Linked DNA regions of Homo sapiens: all the other regions are linked to region 3. Evidence: promoter capture Hi-C in 16 types of primary human blood cells and fetal thymus (Javierre and others, 2016). All regions are on one chromosome and are shown on one strand. The core of a region is centred on a gene start or on the middle of the fragment in contact, and the rest is flanking DNA. Distances in the headings are between cores, read along the strand shown.

The links. The method cuts DNA at HindIII sites, captures the fragments that hold promoters and counts their contacts. A CHiCAGO score of 5 or more calls a contact.
Region 1: a contact is called between a fragment that was not itself captured here and the fragment with the promoter of FBP2 in region 3, in 1 of 17 cell types (monocytes). The highest score is 5.2, in monocytes.
Region 2: a fragment that was not itself captured here is called in contact with the fragment with the promoter of FBP2 in region 3 in 1 of 17 cell types (M0 macrophages); the score reaches 5.8 in M0 macrophages.

What each region holds. Positions count from the first base shown.
Region 1 is chr9:95,168,685-95,171,727 of GRCh38, forward strand. FANCC (FA complementation group C) reads right to left here. Exons shown (of 15, transcript NM_000136.3): 6 at 2,395-2,459. Among named protein-coding and RNA genes, the nearest start is that of MIR3074, 84 kb to the left of the region's middle. The HindIII fragment of the contact is 3,108 bases long and covers 1-2,804 here.
Region 2 is chr9:95,141,792-95,145,791 of GRCh38, forward strand. The region is part of intron 7 of FANCC (FA complementation group C); the gene reads right to left. It also overlaps a transcript of AOPEP not described here and the pseudogene RNA5SP288. Among named protein-coding and RNA genes, the nearest start is that of MIR3074, 58 kb to the left of the region's middle. The HindIII fragment of the contact is 1,694 bases long and covers 1,896-3,589 here.
Region 3 is chr9:94,592,506-94,596,556 of GRCh38, forward strand. FBP2 (fructose-bisphosphatase 2) reads right to left here and starts at 1,319. Exons shown (of 7, transcript NM_003837.4): 1 at 1,052-1,319. The coding sequence starts at 1,221. The HindIII fragment of the contact is 4,350 bases long and covers 954-4,051 here.

The DNA of each region.
Region 1 (3,043 bases), core at 1-2,500, 580 kb after region 3:
CACGCCCAGCTAATTTGTACTTTTAGTAGAGATGCGGTTTTGACATGTTGGCCAGGCTCGTCTTGAACTCCTGAAATCGGGTGATCTACCTACTTCAGCCTCCCAAAGTGCTGGGATTAAAGGCATGTGCCACCGCACCTGGCCTAAATTGTGTACTGTTCTGAGTAGCATGATGAAATCTCATGCTGTCCCACTCTGTCCCATCTGGAACATGAATCATCCCTTTACCCAGGGTATCCATAATATATACACTACCTGCTCGTTAGTCACTTAGTAGCCATACTGGTTGTCAGATCAACTGTCACAGTATCACTGTGCTTGTGTTCAAGTAACTCTTATTTTATTAATACTTAATAATGACCTCAAAGTCCAAGAGCACTGGGGCTGGCAATTTGGATATGCCACAGAGAAGTTGTAAAGTGCTTTCTTTAAGTGAAAAGGTGAAAGTTTTCAACTTAATAAGGAAAGAAAAAAATCATATGCTGAGGTTGCTGAGATCTATAGTAAAAACAAATCATCTATCTGTGAAATTGTAAAGAAGGAAAAAAATTTCTGTTAGTTTTGTCGTTGCATCTCACATGGCAAAAATTACAGCCATCATATATGATAAGTGCTTAGTTACGATGGAAAAGACATTAAAGTTGTGAGTGGAATACAGAAATGTGTTATGATTGGTGGCAATCAGGTTTGGTACTATCCACAGTTTCAGACATCCACTGGGTGTCTTGAAATATATTCCCTATAGATAAGGAGGGATTACTGTATGCGATTTCCTCATCAGTGCTCCCGGTCAGTAGAGACAGAAATCAGTTCCTCAGTCTGCTTCCTAAAAAGTGAGAATGTTGGATGCACATTCCACTCTTCTTTTTCCCTCCCAAGGAAGAGAAGCCACAAGCTGGGTTTTTCCTACCAATCTCACCAAGCTGCCAGACCTGGAAAAGGGCTATCACAGTTGACATGAAACAGATTGTTTAATCAATTTCAATGTGGCTATTCTAGACTTTGAGCTTGCCTGCAGTACTGTGACTTCTTAATTGGTTCTGTAGTTCTCACTATAATTTTTTGGGATGTATGCTGTAGTTAAGTCAATGTCTCTACTGGAAAATAAGGTCTAGGACTTCCTATTCTGCCATCTTGCTGATGTCATTCCTGAAGAACGCCTTTAATGTTATTATTAATTCAGTTTTCATCTTCTAGTAATGACCTGCTTATATTCCTTGCTCATTTCTATAACGGAGTGTTTGCCTCTTTATGATTTATTTTTGCAAGTCATTTCTATATTTTGCATTCTGATCCTTTGTTTCTATTTGTTAACAGATTTTAAAAATTATTTTGTTTATTGTCAGCTGCTTTTTAAAAAATCAACTGTGATGCATATTTTGGGAGTTTGGTGTAGGGAGTACATACACACTGCACTGACTGATTTTTAAGGTCTTTTTGAATAAATTTATAATTACATAATTCAAAAGATCCATCAGTCAACATTCACCTCACAACCAAATCCAAGTCTTTACCTGACATGTAAATAAATAAATCTAAACACTCTCCATGTCTCCTATGGTTCTTCTTACATTGCCAAATCCAACATAATGAAGATTATCTCCAATGTTTTCCTCTAATAATTATATAGTTTAAGGGTTAGGTGCAAAGGATTCCTAAAGGTTGAGGACAAAGACAATTTCTGATAGAGCTTGAATTAGCAATAGCTTTACAAAAAAAAAAAAAAATCACCAAGTCCCTCAGTCCCAGATTCTCTTGGTTAATGATATGTCAAAAATGAAATGCCCACCAATGAAAACTGAGATTCTTTTACAGAGTGAAGAAACATTTGTAATGTGATTAATTGCCTTTTAATTTGTCTGAATCTCTTTGATTTGTTTAGTCTAGATTTTGGAATATCATGTTTCTTAAAATAGGGCATATGTTCACATCAAATGTTGCCTTGTAAATATCGTGTGTGTGTGTGTGTGTGTGTGTGTGTGTGTGTGTGTGTGTTGGGAGCAGAAGAAGGCAGAGCCAGGGCAGGCTAGTGTGAGAGCATACACTTGCATCTGTGCACATTCTCCTCTTGCAGAGTGAGCAATCCCAGGGTAAAACTAAGTACTGCTCTTTCTTTTATGCTCCCTACTGTGTATGTAGGGCTTTCTACCTAATGGGCCCACAAAAGACATTGTATGATTTACTTACTGCTCTGTGAGAGTTGAGAAAATAGTGATTTTTAAAAGAGTTTGAAAAAACTCACCAATTTGCTATGTATTCCACTAAAATAATCTTTCTATATAAAATACAACCATAACTGAACATCCATTTCCTATGAATTGTAAAATTTTCCTCTCATAACCAAACTGATACATTTTGAAACCTGAGAAGAAGGATGTTTAGTTTAACACCTACCGCCTTTGAGTGTTAAATCCATTAAGATGATTCTCTCTGAGTTCAGACGCTAATGATAAAACCATCTGTAAAACAAAATCAGTTGCAGGTTAACTCACGCTGCAAACAGGATTACATCAGTTCTATTTTTCTTGGTGTGAGTGATATTTCCGTTGAGATTCCCCCAACCCCCATCTTCTCATGTTTCACTCTGTCAGAGTGAAAAGGAAGCAGTGCCATGTCACATTTACTAATAATTGGGATTTTATGTTTAATGTCTATAATTCTGCATTCCTATTTAAGCAATGAACAATAGACAGGTCATTAATTTCCTAAGAATTAAAACCAAATCCATTTAAAGAAAAGTTAGTTTACTTCTTCATTTAAAATTCAGTTCATTTGAAAAAAAAAAAAAAGTTGTTATTGTACAAAGCTTCCAAAACACCGGAATGGTTAACAAACATTAAAAAATCTCATAACATTTTTTAGAAGAGTTACATCAAGTTTGTAAGTTAAAATTTCTCACATTTGGCTATAATTTAAGCCAGAAGAAAACAATGCTTTAATATTAAGAGGTAAATATTTAAAACTATGTACTGAATTTTCTGTTTTGCTTTAACAGAAAATTCCAATCAGGTTATTTGAAATACAAGATTCTTTCAACAGTACA
Region 2 (4,000 bases), core at 1,493-3,992, 550 kb after region 3:
TTTTCTTATTAAGCATTGTTGGAAGCCATATTAGCTCTTTCAGCAATGGGAATTAAGCTTACATCTGGTTTTAGTTCAGTGATTGTTAGGGGGAAAAATATGAGTTTGCAAAAACCTAATACTACACATTGTCAAAAATAATACAATTACTAGAGTCAATAATGGTAATAGTAATATGTTAACAGTTTGTGGGGTTTTTTTTTTTTTTTTTTTTTTTTGAGGCAGAGTTTTGCTCTTGTCGCCCAGGCTGGAGTGCAATGGCACGATCTCGGCTCACTACAACCTCTGCCTCCCGGGTTCAAGCAATTCTCCTGCCTCAGCCTCCTGAGTAGCTGGGACTACAGGCACCTGCCATCACACCCAGCTAATTTTTGTATTTTTAGTAGAGATGGGATTTTACCACGTTGGCCAGGCTGGTCTTAAATTCCTGACCTCAGGTGATCCACCTGCCTCAGCCTTCCAAAGTGCTGGGATTACAGGTGTGAGCCACCGTGCCCGGCCACCAACAGTTTTTATTTTTTAGAGCCAGGGTCTTGCTACATTGCCCAGGCTGGACTTGAACTCCTGGCCTCAAGTGATTCTCCTGCTTTGGCCTCCTGAGTAGCTGGGATTACAGGTGTGTGCCACTGTGCCTGTCTTTTTATTTTTATTTTTTAAAGCCTACAGCACCCGCTAATCCCCAGGCCCAACCCCCCTCAGCTTCTGAGATCAGGCAAGACTGGGCACATTTAGGGTGGAGTGGCTGTAGACGCTAATGGTTACGGGGTATTTACTGTGGATACGAGGCACTGTGCTAAGAATATTACAGTCATTCAACCCATTTAAATCTTAGTGTAAGTATTTGTCCTAGTTTGTAAGTTTATTTCTGTTATCCCACTATACTTATAAAAGGGATCTCTTTTAACTCTCAGAAGTGGCATGGTCTAGATTTTAAATCATATGGCCACCCTATTTAACACTCAGAGCCACCCCGAGCTGCGAGTGTTAGAGTGGTCAGAGACTCGTATGTCAGTCACTCCCACTACTTAGAAGCTGTTTTTACTCACAGAGCACTTCTCACACTCACTGTGTGGATTTTCTTCCTCCACACAAACCAATGCTCCCAACTCTCTAGACACCAACTGGGTGTCCAGTGATTCAATTCTGACACCATCTGGCATTAGCACACACCCCACAGGTTAAGGGCTCAGTCCCACAAGACTGCCCCCACTTCAGATGCCAATCACAGGTCTAGGCCTCTCATTCTTCTGACCAACTAGCTATAAAATCAGAGGTTCCAATGATCCTCTCTTCAGGTTTGATAATTTGCTAGAATGGCTCACAGAACTCAGGAAGACACTTTACTTGCCATTACCAATTTATTCTGAAAGATACAATTCAGGAACAGCCACATGGAAGAGATGCATGGGGCCAGGCCTGGGGGAAAGTTCTGAGCTTCCAGGCCCTCTCCAGGCACGTCACCTTCCCAGCACCTGGATGTGACCACCAATCTGGAAGCTATTTGAACCCCACAGTTTAGGTTTTTTATGGAGGTCTCACAATGTAAGCACGACTGATTAAATCGCTGGCCAGTAGTGATCAGGTCGAACTCTGGGGGTCAGGTGTGGTTGGTTCCTTTGGCTACCAGCCCCCATCCCGAGGCTATCTGGGGGCCCACCAGGAGTCACTTCATTAGCCTACACTCAGGTGTGGTGAAAAGGGACTTATGAATAATAAAAGATGCTCTTCTCACCTCATCACTCAGGAAATTTCAAGGGTTTTAGGAGCCTGGATGAAGACCAAATGCACATTTCTTATTATATCACGAGATCACCGTCATGCCTTCATTCTTTTTTTCACTTGTTCAGTGTCTCATTCATTCAGGCATATAGAACAAATTCTCCATCCAGTCTTCAAGCTTCTCAGTATTTTTGAAGCAGTGGATTCGGATGACCTCAGAGGACATGTCATGCTGTATTACTTATACTCCAGACTTACAAAAGGACCTCAGCAGCCCGCCCAGGAAGGTTTTATGCCGTCTTTAGCCTGCAGGTGCCTATGACGGCAGCCCCAGGGACAGACATGAAAAGTTGACATTTAGGCCAAGAAATTTAAAAGTTCCTCTAGGTTATCTAAACCATAAAGAGGGGCAAGCATCTGCTGTTTAAAAGACAGGCAGACCACTGCTGAAAATATATGACTGCATTTGGAAGCCAAGACCAAAGACACCAGCCAATTGTCAAACAGATGAAATTCCACTGGTGTACTGTGGTAAGCAAATAGTTGGAAGGCTAAACACGGGTTAGAGTGCATTGGTCAAAGAAAGCATGTGGTTTCCAAATGACCACGCAGCACATCTGGGGAGGGGGGGCTGGGCGCGGCTGGTAATTTGCACTGATTGATTGGATCAGCCTCGCTGTGTCAACATGTGGCTGGGATGTTCCGCCTACGGGAAAGTGTCCATGGAGAGGCTCCAGCTCTTACGCCACTGCTTGGGGAACTTGCTGAGCTGAAGCCACAGGATTTGGACACACTGAAGACCACCCAGCACTTCTGGACAGTCTGTCCCTTATGGATTAGCAGACATAACTTTCCAAACCAAATAAATTTTATGAGTTGTTGAGGGAGAACATGCTATCACAAGCAAAATTACAAGCAAGGGAGTGTGGGCCTGCTTGGGGAGCCGCTGCCCTCAGCGTCCCTCTGAGCACTGTGCTAGAGCAGGAGTAGCTGTTCTCTGGGCACGTCGCCTGGCCAGTGATTTCTCAAACAGCTTTTGGGGTTTCACAGAAGACCAGGAGTATTCACTTCCAGATTCCCTTTAATTCAGCTCTTGCTGAAAGAGTAAGGCTAGACACGGGGGTGGCTGAGACCATATTCTCCTGTGAAATATATTCCTAGATGAATCAAGAAGGGAGCTGCCACAGTGAAAGGCAAGAGCATTTTAGTTAAATATTCTTTGTAAGTATTTTGAAAAATCGCCGTGGAGAGTAAAAATGCCAGTTGGTGTGATCAGTGGTGGGGCCGTGAAGCGTGTGCTCCATTGCGGGTGTTGGGCACTGTAAGGAAAGAATCGAGCGCCGCGCCGCACGTTCACAACGCCCTTTACTCAGTATCTCACATAAGGACCAAACATAACGCTCGGACTCCTCAGAAAGCTCACTCCACTTACTGGGTGAATTTTGACAGAAGGTTTAAGAGTAGGTAGAAAAAAGGCCATTTTATTTTTTTAGCCATGAAACCTGCATTTTGACCATTTTTCGAATCAAGTGACTTAATCTTCTAATTCTCTTTTTAAATCTCACTTTCACAAAATCCTGGATTATAACCTTTCATATAAACTGAAATTAAAATATGTATCCTAATTTTTAAGAGTTATAGATTTAAAAAATGGAAATACTCTGAACTGTAAGAACAACGGTGGTTTTGAGCCTGTTTTGTTTTCCAAACGCAACAAACAACACAATGAAAATCTATTTGAAGATGGAGGAGAAGATCCATTTATGACAGTGAAAACATTGAAAACACAAATACAACAAAACATTAGGAACAAGAAATGTGTAAATCCAATGTGTGAAAAATATATACAACACTCCCTTCAGATCACAAAAGCTTAACAAATGGTAAAACGTATGTGTTCTTGAACAGGCGGACAGACAGCCTTAACATCATGAAAACGCCAGCTCTCTCGATAATCTATATACTTACAGGAGTCTTCCCCCAACAACACTGGGTGTCTTCCCTGCAACTAGAAAAATTGGTTTCAAAGTTTATGTGGAATATAAGACAAGCAATGATAGCAAAACAAACTAATAACAACCCTAGTAAAGAAGAGAAATCAAAGGGAATGATCCTTATTTTGTATTGAACACAGTTGATGCCAGCACTAAAGCAGTGATACTGCCGCACGCACATGCAAGAGACCAGAGAACCAGAACAGAAGGTAACAAAACAGGCCTGACTATGTGAGAACTGAGAATGTGACAAGGGAACCACCTAAGCCCACAGGACTGTGCTCCAG
Region 3 (4,051 bases), core at 69-2,568:
GGAAGCCCAAAGAAAGCTGGGGTTTTGTTTGTTTGTTTGTATGTTTTGAGATGGAATCTCGTCCTGTCACCCAGGCTGGAGTGCAGTGGTACGATCTCGACTCACCGCAACCTCCATCTCCCAGGTTCAAGCGATTCTCCTGCCTCAGCCTCCCGAGTAGCCGGGACTACAGGCGCCCGCCACCACACCCAACTAATTTTTGTATTTTTAGTAGAGACAGGGTTTCAACATGTTGGCCAGGATGGTCTTGATCTCTTGACCTCATGATCCACCCACCTTGGCCTCCCAAAGTGCCAGGATTACAGACAGGAGCCACCGTGCCTGGCCACCGGATTCTTTTTATTACAGACTTAAACTGGACACTGGGCTGTGACCATCAGCAGTGTAATGTGAACCTGGCCTCATCTATGCTCGGATAAAGCACCAAAGAGAACCCTGTGGAAGAAACCTCTGCGCTCCCCTCCCAGGACTAGCACCTCCCGGCTTCCTGCACACCAAGTGGAGGTGAAGATAAAGAAAGAGTCACAGAGAAGAAATAAAACACGTAGCCAGCAAAACACTCCTTTAGATGATGAGAGAGCAGATGCAGGAAGGGGCTCTACCAAGCTTCCTATGTCGTACATAATTTCCAGCTCCTAACATATTTGCAAAGCTTATTACAATAAAACACTCATGTCTGCAAGAGGCATAAAGAGATATTTCACGTCACCCCTCTACTTCTTTGTTCCAGTGAGACTCTCTCTGTGCAAGTACAAGTCATGATAACACAATACATATTTTAATGCAACAAGCCACTGCACTTGGTATCATTATAATAACTGGAAAAATTATATGTGTATTTCTTCATAGCATGTTTTCGTTCCTTTCTCAAAACAAGTCAAAGGCCCCTTTATCAAAGCACACATGATAGGAACTTGAAATGCAGCTTCCATCTAGGGCACACAGGGCCAATAAGCTTTGGACCCAGTTTCTTGCCAAAGCACCTGCAGCTCCCACACCCCTGCCTGGGCCTGGGGTGCTCTGTGCCCCATGCCTGCTCCCCAGGACTCACAGGTGGGCCAGACCGGCCTTGCGCACAGCCGAGGAGATGGCTTTGATGGCCGTCAGCATTGAGTTCAGCAGCTGGGTGAGCTCCCCAGTCCCTTTGGCCTGACGCCCCTTTTCCATAACGTAGCGGGTCAGGGTGAGCATGTCGGTTTCGAAGGGGCTTCTGTCCGTCATTTTGGCTGGAATGCTTCAAATCCTTTTCTCCCGGCAGGAAACCTTGCTTACTTCTGAGGGCTGCAGCTCCGCAGTGTGGAAGCCGATAAGAAATCTGTGCTGGCCCTGCCAGGATCTCTAAGGAAAAGGGCCCAAAACACATGACTCAAACAACTGCTGGGGCCCTCAAGGAACTCCCTCTGGCCTCGGGGACTGTGGCAGCTGCCAGGGAGCCGCAGCAGTCTGTAAATAGGACGGGCTGCCCAGAAACATGGAGCTGCTTTCTCCTGCTGAGCACCCCCTTTCAAGATACCAAGAAGCCACCATTTAGGCACAGGTGGGAGGTGAGAAATCCAGTTGATTAAAAAATGATGCATAAAACCCTCTTATTCCAGGCTCCAAAGGATTCTTCACATATAGTGACTGCAGGGCCTGGCTCTCCCGAGGGCGGAGGTGGCAGATTCGCAGGTTCCTTATCTGGGACGTAGGTCACATAGTAACATAATGGCAACCCCAGAATTCCTTTAGCCAGGGTTTGGAATAAGTTAGGAAAGAATGCTTTTTATTTCCAGTAGGCATGTATGACCAGTGGATATCCACAGTAGAGATCCAGATCCGGAAGAAAACTATTATATTCCTAGCACAGTTCCTGGCACCAGTGTTATTTTGTCAATATCTCTGGATGTCCACTTTTGTAACAAAAATTGCTTGTTAAAAAGGAAACACTAAAGAAGTGGATAAAGACAAACCTCCTCACCACCAGCCCATTCTCCCATCCCACTCTCCAGAAATCACTGCTGCTAGGGCTGGTGGCGGTCTGTGCAGCCAGTAGGCACTGGTGGGGTGCATATGGTGGTGGAAGCACTTTCTCTAGGGCCAGCCAGACCTGGCTGTGAGTCCCAAGCTAGCTATCTGTTGGTTGCATGATTTGAGAAAGTTATTAAACCCCTTGGAACCTCAGTTGTCTCACTCTTAAATGAGCATAACCGTGAAGCATCCATCTTATAGAGTGGCTGCAATGAGATGTACCTAGTATAGTAGGTGCTCAGTACTTTGTTACCTATTATTGCCCTTCCAGTTTTTTTTTTTTTTTTTTTTTTTTTTTTTGAGATGGAGTCTCACTCTGTCGCCCAGGCTGGAGTGCAGTGGCGTGATCTCGGCTCACTGCAAGCTCCGCCTTCCAGGTTCACGCTATTCTCCTGCCTCAGCCTCCCGAGTAGCTGGGACTACAGGCGCCTGCCACGACGCTTGGCTAATTTTTTGTATTTTTAGTAGAGACGGGGTTTCACCGTGTTAGCCAGGATGGTCTCGATTTCCTGACCTCGTGATCCGCCCGCCTCGGCCTCCCAAAGTGCTGGGATTACAGGCGTGAGCCATCACGCCCAGCCGCCCTTCCAGTCTTTCAATGTGCTCACAACTATTGTGCAATCATACATAATCTCATTTCACAAAACAGTACAACATGCACATTTCTCTGAAGGTCTTTTCCCCTGACAGTTATGTCGATTAGAATGTGTTCAGCTGCAAGAAATAGAACAACTAGAGCAATTTACACGTGGGGGTTTATTTCCTCATAGACCAGGAGTGCACTAGGAGGTGGTGGCTGGTGTTCATTCAGCTGTTCTTGGTTCCACTGGGACCCCTCTCTGTCTCGTCTCTGTCATCCTTGGTCGGCTGGATTGTGCCCCTTGCTTGGCATCCTGGGGGCACAAAATGTCACTGCAGTTCTGAACATCTGGCCCACGTTGAAGATGCAAAGAGGGGAGCAAGGGCAGCTCCAACCACATCAGTTCCTTTTTATTAAGAAAGAACAGTTTCCCTGGAACCCATCCTCCCACCCCCGTAGACGTCCCTGTGCACAGCGTCTGCCAGATCAGGGTCGTGTGGTGATGCCTGCAGTGGGAGCTGGGCGCTGGCATTGGATCAACCAAACTGGTTGAGGAGGGCAACCAAATGGTTGAGATGGGCATTGGTGCTCACAATTTATGTGGAAACTTTCAGATAAAACTAACATCTACCAGTAGATCTTAATATGCAGGTTTAAGATCCCAAATATATATATATGTTATTTATATATGTTTTTAGTTCCAGAAAGCAAATATTATGGGAAGATGTCCAAGTCAGCACACAGAGGCTTGGATCATTCCAGCTTGCGGACATTCAGATAATTTAGGTAAGTTGGCTCCTCAAATAGTAATGCAACAAACATCCTTATATTGGGGCAAGTGCTTCAGTAAGATACAACCCCAGAAGAGGAACTGCTATGTGACAATGTTCTAATTCTTTTCGCGGGGGTGTGGGGGGGTCTATCTTCACTTACCAAGAAATATGCTACCTCTTAATAGAACAAATACAGGATCCCATACCCTTTTTGTGATTTTCATTCAATCTATTTCAACTTTCAACACTGAGGTGAATGGATAGATGGAGACAGATGACACCTCTATCTCAGTATGTGGCACACATTAATCCACCCAATTATTTGATCCAGTAGTGCTATTTTTACAGATGAGGAAACTAGGGCTTCCTAGGGATAACACAGCTACTAGCTAGAATCTCAGCCCAGAGCTACCTGAGGTTAGCGTTCTTTCTCTTATATGATACTTTCTCCCATTCTAGGATGCTCCTCCTCCCTAGATGACTGAGCACCATACACGACAATGCACATATGCCTGTTAACACAATTAGAACATAGAATAAGACATGAGCTTAGAATTGAGTTCTAACAAGAGAGATCGCTATGTATAATAAAACAAGAACATCTGCCTGGGTCAGACCAGAGTATTGCTAAATCTATACCCAAAGGAAAGAAGCCTGGGCCGGGAATCAAAGCCCTCCGGGACTCAGATGC